Regions from separate parts of the Homo sapiens genome. Here all the other regions are linked to region 2. The links are contacts of gene promoters, found by promoter capture Hi-C in human tissues and cell types (Jung and others, 2019). All regions are on one chromosome and are shown on one strand. Each heading gives the region's core, a stretch centred on a gene start or on the middle of the fragment in contact. The rest is flanking DNA. Distances are from core to core; before and after follow the strand shown.

Region 1 (3,086 bases), core at 558-3,057, 110 kb before region 2:
AGCTAAATAGCAACCACAGAGTACCTATCAACAAATGCTGCATAAGTACCTTAAATATTCATGACACTTCTGCTGTGCAACATTGTATTCCACATAAATGGTGTTCCCCAGAATTCTGTGATATGCAGACTCTGTATACTTATTCTATTTAACCCTTATGATATTTTTCAGAAGGTATTAACCGTATTTTAGAGACAATATAGCTGACATTAAGAATGAGATTAGGACAGGCATGGTGGCTCACGCCTGTAATCCCAGCAATTTGGGAGGCCGAGGCGGGTGGATCACCTAAGATCGGGAGTTCGAGACCAGCCTGACCAACATGGAGAAACCCCATTTCTACTAAAAATATAAAATTAACCAGGCATGGTGGCACATGCTTGTAATCCCAGCTACTCGGGAGGCTGAGGCAGGAGAATCGCTTGAACCCAGGTGGGGTCAGTGGCGGGGGAGAGGGTTGCAGTGAGGCGAAATCATGCCACTGCACTCCAACCTGGGCAACAAGAGTGAAACTATATCTCAGAAAACAAAAAAGAAAAAAAAAAGAATGAGATTAGGCCAGGTGCGGTGGCTCACGCCTGTAATGCCAACACTTTGGGAGGCCAAGGCCAGCAGATCACCTGAGGTCAGGAGTTTGAGACCAGCCTGGCCAATATTGTGAAGCCCCATCTCTACTAAAAATAAAAAATTAGCCAGGTGTGGTGGCACACACCTGTTGTCCCAGCTACTTGGGAGGCTGAGGCAGGAGAATGGCTTGAACCTGGGAGGTGGAGGTTGCAGTGAGCTGAGATCGCGCCACTGCACTCCAGCGTGGGCGACAGAGTGAGACTCCATCCAGAAAAAAAAAACCACAAAAACAATGAGATTAATAACTTGCCTAGATTACAAAGCTATCAAGTGGTAGAGCTGGGATTCAAACTCCAGGACCAATGTTCTCTCCTATGTTGCTACACTCTATTACATTCCACAAAAAGCCAACCCTACAAGCCCATTATTATCTACAAACTTGATTGGCATACCATCTAGGCCTTATTCTGTGGTCTCGGACTGAACTTTCTAGACAACTATGTATCATATACCTAGTTTACTACAAGGTAACAAGAGCCTTCTTAGACATAGTCATTCAGTAAGTAACAAACCCATACACTGGTATTATCATCCAGCCTACATTTCTCTATATTGAAATCCTACCTTCCCCCTCAATTTCAATGCTCATATATTCTTACCATTAATTAATGTCTGAAAAATGACTTCTTAGATTCCATGGGTAGTTTTCTAAAATTAAGTATTAATACTGTTGATTACATATTTAAACAATTTTTGGGGAGTAAAATTTAGCAATGCCGATTGAAATATTACCATTTGAACCAACAATTCCACTTCTAGCAATTTATCCTATAAAAATCCACGTTTCCAAACTGCACAAAAATACACATGCAAAGATGTTTATCACAGCATCATTTTTAACAGCAGAAAGTAGTGCAAACAGTATCAACGCCTGCGAATAGGCAAGTGGTCAAAAAACAATGTTATGTCAATACAGTGGACTACAATGCAGTTGAAAAAATGAAGCATTTATAGGTACTAATGAGAGGTGAAGCCAGCTGGACTTCCTGGGTCGAGTGCGGACTTGGAGAACTTTTCTGTCTTACAAGAGGATTGTAAAATGCAACCATCAGTGCTCTGTAAAAACGCATCAATCAGCACTCTGCAGACAGCAAGAGCATTCTAAAAATCACCAATCAGCGCTCTGTAAAATGCACCAATCAGCGTTTTGTAAAATGCACCAATCAGTGCTCTGTAAAATGCACCAATCAGCAGGATCCTAAAAGTGGCCAATCACAGGGAAGATTGAAAAAAGGGCACTCTGATAGGACAGAAATGGAACATGGGAGGGGCCAATAAGGGAACAAAAGCTGGCCACCCCAGCCAGCAGCAGCAACCCACTTGGGTCCCCTTCCACACTGTGGAAGCTTTGTTCTATCGCTCTTCACAGTAAACCTTGCTACCACTCACTCTTTGGGTCCGTGCCATCTGTAAGAGCTCTAACACTCACCACGAAGGTCTGCAGCTTCATTCTTGAAGTCAGCGAGACCACAAACCTGCTGGAAGGAACCAACTCTGGACACATCTTGGGGGCTTGTTCAGGATATCGCCACGTGATAAGGACCATCGGACCCCTTTTGCTTGCTATTCTGTCCTATTTTTCCTTAGAATTTGGGGGCTAAATACTGGGCACCTGTTGGCCTGTTAAAAATGACTAGCATGGCCGCCAGACTAAAGACACGGGTGTCAGGCTTTCTGGGAAAGGGCTCTCTAACAACCCCAGACTCTTTGGAGTTCGGAGCGTTGGTTTGCCTGGAACCAGCTTCCACTTTTCCTATACTTCTGGGCTGAGCCAAGGGTCGACAGAGAGGAAAGACATTCAGCTCTGGGGTCCCGACAAAAAGTTGGTTGACCCTGCAGCAGTGAGCGGAACTCTCAAAGTTATGTCGCCCAAGCGAGACTCACCCATCTATCCTATCTATCCTGAAACTTGCCTCCTGCGTCCTAATGCCTGTCAGACAAACTTCCTCCCACCTCTCTTCTCCAAGGCTACTCCCACTCCTAAAAACCACTCCCTGTCCCTGTTGCTCTTCTAGTTTCTCTTATAAGGATAATTTCTAGTATAAATTTCGGGGGGAGGTTCCAAGATGGCCGAATAGGAACAGCTCCAGTCTACAGCTCCCAGCATAAGTGACACAGAAGACCGGTGATTGCTGCATCCCCAACTGAGGTACTGGGTTCATCTAACTGGGACTTGTTGGACAGTGGGTGCAGCCCACGGAGTGTGAGCCAAAGCTGCGGGGGCATCGCCTCACCCAGGAAGCACAAGGGGGTCAGGGAATTGCCTTTACTAGCCAAGGGAAGCCGTGACAGACAGTACCTGGAAAATCAGGACACTCCCATCCTAATACTGCACTTTTCCAATGGTCTTAGCAAATAGCACACAAGGAGATTATATCACGCGCCTGGCTCAGAGGGTCCCACGCCCACAGAACCTCGCTCACTGCTAGCACAGCAGTCTGAGATCAAACTGCAAGGCG
Region 2 (3,253 bases), core at 208-2,707:
AAGTACACAACAAACATGCTCATGAAATTGAGAGAATAAAAATATCCGATCCTTTGAATTCATAGGCTAGGCCTTAGAAGATTTGGGGTAATAGATCTTGTGTCACTAGGGCACTTTTGTCCTCTTTAATTTTTATAAATCACTAAAATTATTGAACGTAGTTAAAACTTGGCAGCAGTATTACTCCTACCCTGAGTATTTTTTAAGTTTTTCAGTAATGTGGATACATAAATCTAAGGTAGGGTGTAATCTCTCAAGGAACTTCCAGCATTATTTTTTAAGTGGCCAAAAAAGTGGAAGTTCTTGGACTTTTGAGCCTCTACAAGGCTGGGAAATATTGGGACAATTTTGGGATTTTTTTTTTTTTTCCCGAGACGGAGTTTCGCTTTTGTTGCCCAGGCTGGAGTGCAATGGCACGATCTCGGCTCACCGCAACCTCTGCCTCCCAGGTTCAAGCGATTCTCCCGCCTCAGCCTCCCGAGTAGCTGGGATTACAGGCATGCGCCACCACGCCTGGCTAATTTTGTATTTTTAGTAGAGACGGAGTTTCTCCATGTTGGTCAGGCTGGTCTCAAACTCCCGACCTCAGGTGATCCGCCCTCCTGGGCCTTCCAAAGTGCTGGGATTACAGGTGTGAGCCACTGCGCCCAGCAATTTTGGGATATTTTTAACGCGTGTGTTTGAACTGTGTTTTTAATCATTTCTTCATCAACAAAAGTTTAATTTTATATTGATTTAGTCCGTATTTGGGGAGCAGGTGTGGCCAACTTTTATTTTTTATTGTAACTGTTATTAAAAAACAGTTCCCAACATGAAGCAACTGTTAACTTTTCCAGGGGTCTCTGAACTACCAAGGAACTGGACCACGAGCGTTCAATAGGTAGGCTGTTACAGATTAGAAGCTTTCCCTATTGTCAATCACATCATTAACGTCCCTACACACACACACACACACACAGAGACACACACACACACACACACACACCCACACACACACCCTAGTTTTGCGTCTGTAGCTACCATGAAACAGAGGCAGTTGAACAGCAGAGATAGGGGAAATCTACTAACTTTTACTCTGCCCACTTCCGGCCCAAATCTAGAAGTCTGTCTCCCTAAATAAAAAGAACAAAGTAATTTTCACAAGTGTGGGAATCTCCTCTCTTGAGCTCCTAGGATGGAAAGGTGGGCTGGGGCAGCAGGGTAACGATGGCCTGACAGGTCAGAGCGGGGAATAGTCCGGTAATAGTTGCTTCCTCACCGCGGTGGATCCTTTCTTCACCGCTTCCTGGGCATATTCAACTTGAAAAAGGTGTCCGTCTGGGGAGAAGACAGTGATCGCCCTGTCATATCGAGACGCCATCGCACAGGACTACAAGGGCTTGCCACCGAGCTTCCCGCTGCTGCAGCTGAGGCAAGCGGGGAGCCGCCGCCAACACAGCGTGCTACCGCCCGGAAGCGCTTCCACACGCGCCTCAAGCTGCCTCCCGGAAGTCCCCGCGCCCGCGCTTCGGCTGCTTCACGGAAGTCCTTGCTCCTTTGGCTGCCTGCGGATGTCCTCGCGCTTGCCAGCCTTTGTCACCCAAGCAGTGCCTGTGAGTTGACGGCATTCTTCCCTTACCCTTCATGTCTGACGCATAGCGCATATCTCCATTTCCCCACTACCGTGTTGCCCCAGGGATGGTGTCACGGCACTCGAGTTATAAAAATAATATCAAAGATTAGGGCTTAAAAATGAGGTCTTCAAATATCAGATATTTTTGTTATCGCATACATGTTGGAGAAACTGTGGTAAGTTAAATATCAGTCCCTTCCCTTTGGTTTCAAATTCTAAATTTCCTACTTTTTCTTTCTCTCTCTCAGGTTAACTCTTGTTATTTGAACCGAAGGAAAGAAAGCAAACTTCAAAATATTGTTGCTTCTGATATTTTCTGCCTTGTGAGCAAAATAGAGCAGATGAGCAAATGGTCCGTTAAATAAAGCAAATAGTCCATCAAACTAAGCTAATGATGAGAATTAAGATAATGTTCTTTTTTTTGTTTTGTTTTGTTTTTTGTTTTTTGAGACGGAGTCTCGCTCTGTCGCCCAGGCTGGAGTGCAGTGGTGCAATCTCGGCTCACTGCAAGCTCCACCTCCCGGGTTCACGCCATTCTCCTGCCTCAGCCTCCGGAGCAGCTGGGACTACAGGCGCCCGCCACCACGCCCGGCTAATTTTTTATATTTTTAGTAGAGACTGGGTTTCACCGTGTTAGCCAGGATGGTCTTGATCTCCTGACCTCGTGATCCGCCTGCCTCGGCCTCCCAAAGTGCTGGGATTACAGGCGTGAGCCACCGCGCCCGGCCCAGATAATATTCTTTTAATTGGAGAAATTTTGTAAAAGCCCAAAGTATGAGACTTAAAAGATGTCTGGAAATTTAGCTATAGCAGAAACTCTTTACAACTTGCTACATTACTAACTATGAAACAACTCTGTCGCTTTCTCCTTATCAATAAAATGGGAATATTAAAAAATCTGCAGCAGAGTATTCTGAGCTTAATATGTGTTTATGGGCATAATTACATAAAATGGTGCCTGGTGGGCAGTAATAGCCAGGTAAGTTTAGCTATTATTGCTTTCCATGTGTTGTTTAATATATGCAGTTTTCCACTGGGGAGGATCTTAAAGTTGGTGAAATCAACTTTAACCAAAAAAAAGAAAAAAAGAATAATTTCCTCAAAAGAGGAAAAATTTGATTCCCTGAATTCCAAATACTTAAATCAGAATTTTAATTGACTTAAACAATTTATTTAATTATTAATACTTTTTTTTTTAACGTAGGGACTTGGTTTCCCTATGTTGCCCAGGCTGGTCTCAAACTCCTGGTCTCAAGCAATCCTCCTGCCTTGGCATCCGAAAGTACTGCGATTACAGGTGTGAGCCACCACACCTGGCCTTTAGTTGACTCTTGAAGCAGTTTGTACTTATTGCCCCTCCATTGCTTTTCTTCAGTATTACAGTCTTGACAAGTTTGGTTTGACTGCAAAAAACCAGTAATTCCTAATGAAAACAATTCACTCTAACTGGTTACTTTACATTATTATGATAAACCAACATTTGTCCAAAGTGGTTTCTTGAGAAGTGTTTTGGTGTACTCGTTAAATTATGTTTCCTTTTTATTTTGAAATAGTTATAGATTGACAGGAAGTTTCAAATACGGTAAGAAGAGGTCTCCTATATCCTTCACCCCATTTCCTCCAATGGTAATATTTTATGTA
Region 3 (2,783 bases), core at 55-2,554, 84 kb after region 2:
ATAGTTAAGAAAAGGTATGGTGTGCACAAAAAATGGATGTTGCTGCAGCATGGTTTGATATGACATAATAAGATTCGAAGAAAAAAATAATGCATATAGCAATGTGCATATTGACTTTTTGGAGAAAAGTATTGAGGTGTTTTTAGAAATTTTTTGTTCTTAGGGACCAACTTTTATTTTTAAAAATGTCGTATTTTGTAAGTATGTGTAGGTCTTCCTTTTACTATAGTACAGTAGTTATATCACTTTTTGCCTTGTTCTCATAGTTATAAATTTCTTCTTTTTTATTTTTATTTTTTGTATTTTGTTAAAAGAATAGAAACAATGTCTTGGTATGTTGCCCAGGCTGGTCTTGAACACCTGGGCTTAAGTGATCACCTGCCTTGGCCTCCCAAAGTCCTGGGATTACAGGCATGAGCCACTGCACCTGGTCAGTTTATGAACTTCTTAATAGAAAATAGGCTGTACAGAAATGACCAGGTAGAGATCTGAAGAGATTAAAGACAATTTTCAAAAAGAAAATATGGTTAAAATCATTGAGGAAATTTTTATTTGTTTATTTATTTATTTATTTATTTTGAGACGGCGTCTGGCTCTGTTGCCCAGGCTGGAGTGCAGTGGCACAATCTCTGCTCTCTGCAAGCTCCGCCTCCCGGGTTCACACCATTCTCCTGCCTCAGCCTCCCAAGTAGCTGGGAGTACAGGCACCCACCACTACGCCCGGCTAATTTTTTTTTTGTATTTTTAGTAGAGACAGGGTTTCACCGGAAATCTTTATTGTTTTAAAAATCTCTTTAGGACAAATAAAAAACTTCATTTAAATTTTGATATTTCAGAATCAAAAGAACACAAAATTACAGTTACCAAAAAAGAAAGTTATACAGTGTTCTGGCAGCACCTAGTTTTTTAATCATATGAGTTTCTTATAAAAGCATTTTAATTATATGTTACCTTTTAATAAAGAAGTTCATGGTGAGTTTTATTAATGAATTTTTTTACTAGATGCTAGAGGATGATTGAAGAGTTTTATTAATGAAGTTTTAATATTCATTTCATTATAAAACATTTTCTTAGTTTTTATAAAAATAAGCTGCATATTTTACATTGAAAGTTTTTCTGTTTATTATTATTTATTTTTATTTGTTTTAATTCAGCAACTAAGCTAGTATTGCAAAATGTTTTTCTCTGTGTTCTCTTAGAGGGTCTATTGCTTCCAGGTGAGCACTTTAGCACAAATTTTTTTTTTTTTTTGAGGTGGAGTCTCACTTTTTGTCGCCCAGGCTGGAGTGCAGAAGTGCAGTCTCGGCTCACTGCTGCTTCCGCCTCCTGGGTTCAAGCAATTCTTCTGCCTCAGCCTTCCTAGGGGCTGGGATGACAGGTGCCTGCCATCACGCCCAGCTAATTTTTGTATTTTAGTAGAGACATGTTGGCCAGGTTGGTCTTGAACTCCTGACCTCAAGCCATCCATCCACCTCAGCCTCCCGAAGTGTTGGGATTACAGGCGCAAGCCACTGCGCTGGGCCCAATTTTTATGTTAATTTGTTTCTTAAACTGCTGGCAAAATGTTGCTTAAGTATAATAGTCAATCCAACATATATTTTCCCATGTTATTGTCACTGTTACCCAGATAAAGTTTATTTTTTTGTCATTTTGAACCTTAAGAGAAAGATCTGGCTGGGCGTTGGTGCCCTTGCTTGTAACCTCAACACTTTGGGAGGCTGAAATGGGAGGATCACTTGACCCCAGGAGTTGAAGACCAGCCTGGGCAAGATGGCAAGACTTGCATTTTTTACAAAAAGAAATGTGAAAATTAGCTGGGCGTGGTAGCTTGTGCCTGCAGTCCCAGCTACTTGGAGGTGGAGGCAGGAGGTTCACTTGAGCACAGGACTTCGAGGCTGTAGTGAGTTTGCTGGTGTCACTGCACTCCAGCTTGGGTGACAGAGCAAGACCGTCTCTAAAAAAACAAAAAGAGTAACTCCAGTTTTCAGAGTAAACCACCATCTTCCTACATAAACTTATTTGCATATAGAGCATAAACTTCACTAGAATTCAACAAGCTCTATAAAAGCAGGAAGTGTGTTCTCTGCTGTATCCCAGGTGCCTAGAAAAATGCCTGAGGATGGACACACAAAATCTTATTTATTTCTTTCATTTCTTCAGTAAAAAGCAAGTGTTATATGATCACCTGTCTGAAAAATGTTTATTTAATCAACAAGTACATTCAGTGTATGAAAAGGCAAATTGTGTAGAAGGGATTTCTGAAGATGTTATATTGGACAGATACCTGTGTATTTTTCATTATCAGGCATTAGTAATTATAGCTTTCCACATTTAACAGAATTTTACTAATTATATATTCAAATATAAAGAATTTTACAAATTGCAGTGCTTGTGTTAAAGAATATGTTTTGTAAGTTCCATGTGTGTAATTCTTCAGATTTGGATATGTCTTGGCCCCCTGTAGCTTACTGTATGTGGGACCTTTGACTAAATTACTTAATTTCTCTAAGTAAGATTAAGTGAAATGATGCATGTAAAAATCCTGACTTGGTAATCATTTGCATAATTTTTATAAAATCAGTTGGCTAATCATCAAGCTTTTTTAAAAAGGTGAACACAAAAACATTTGAGATTGGTTTATCAGCTACTGTCTTATTTTAGCCACAGCATCTAATTTATTTCTGGGTGTTTTAATAGTATTAAGAAAGTGTTGATTCACGTGGCTAAGTTGCAAATGACAATATCTTCAAAACACTGTGCTTTCTGTCAGTGTACTCTTTGGT

The links. The method cuts DNA at HindIII sites, captures the fragments that hold promoters and counts their contacts. A contact is called where the count stands out against the background at its distance.
Region 1: a fragment that was not itself captured here is called in contact with the fragment with the promoter of PSMA8 in region 2 in 3 of the 25 tissues and cell types used here (heart left ventricle, lymphoblastoid cells and small bowel).
Region 3: a fragment that was not itself captured here is called in contact with the fragment with the promoter of PSMA8 in region 2 in 5 of the 25 tissues and cell types used here (aorta, liver, lymphoblastoid cells and 2 more).

What each region holds. Positions count from the first base shown.
Region 1 is chr18:26,244,303-26,247,388 of GRCh38, reverse strand. All of the region lies in intron 1 of TAF4B (TATA-box binding protein associated factor 4b), which reads right to left. Among named protein-coding and RNA genes, the nearest start is that of TAF4B, 19 kb to the right of the region's middle. RefSeq lists a silencer at 2,196-2,554. The HindIII fragment of the contact is 3,830 bases long and covers 1-3,086 here.
Region 2 is chr18:26,132,073-26,135,325 of GRCh38, reverse strand. PSMA8 (proteasome 20S subunit alpha 8) reads right to left here and starts at 1,457. Exons shown (of 7, transcript NM_001025096.2): 1 at 1,259-1,457. The coding sequence starts at 1,360. The HindIII fragment of the contact is 10,391 bases long and covers 1-3,253 here.
Region 3 is chr18:26,048,705-26,051,487 of GRCh38, reverse strand. The region is part of intron 5 of SS18 (SS18 subunit of BAF chromatin remodeling complex); the gene reads left to right. Among named protein-coding and RNA genes, the nearest start is that of SS18, 41 kb to the left of the region's middle. The HindIII fragment of the contact is 4,682 bases long and covers 1-2,783 here.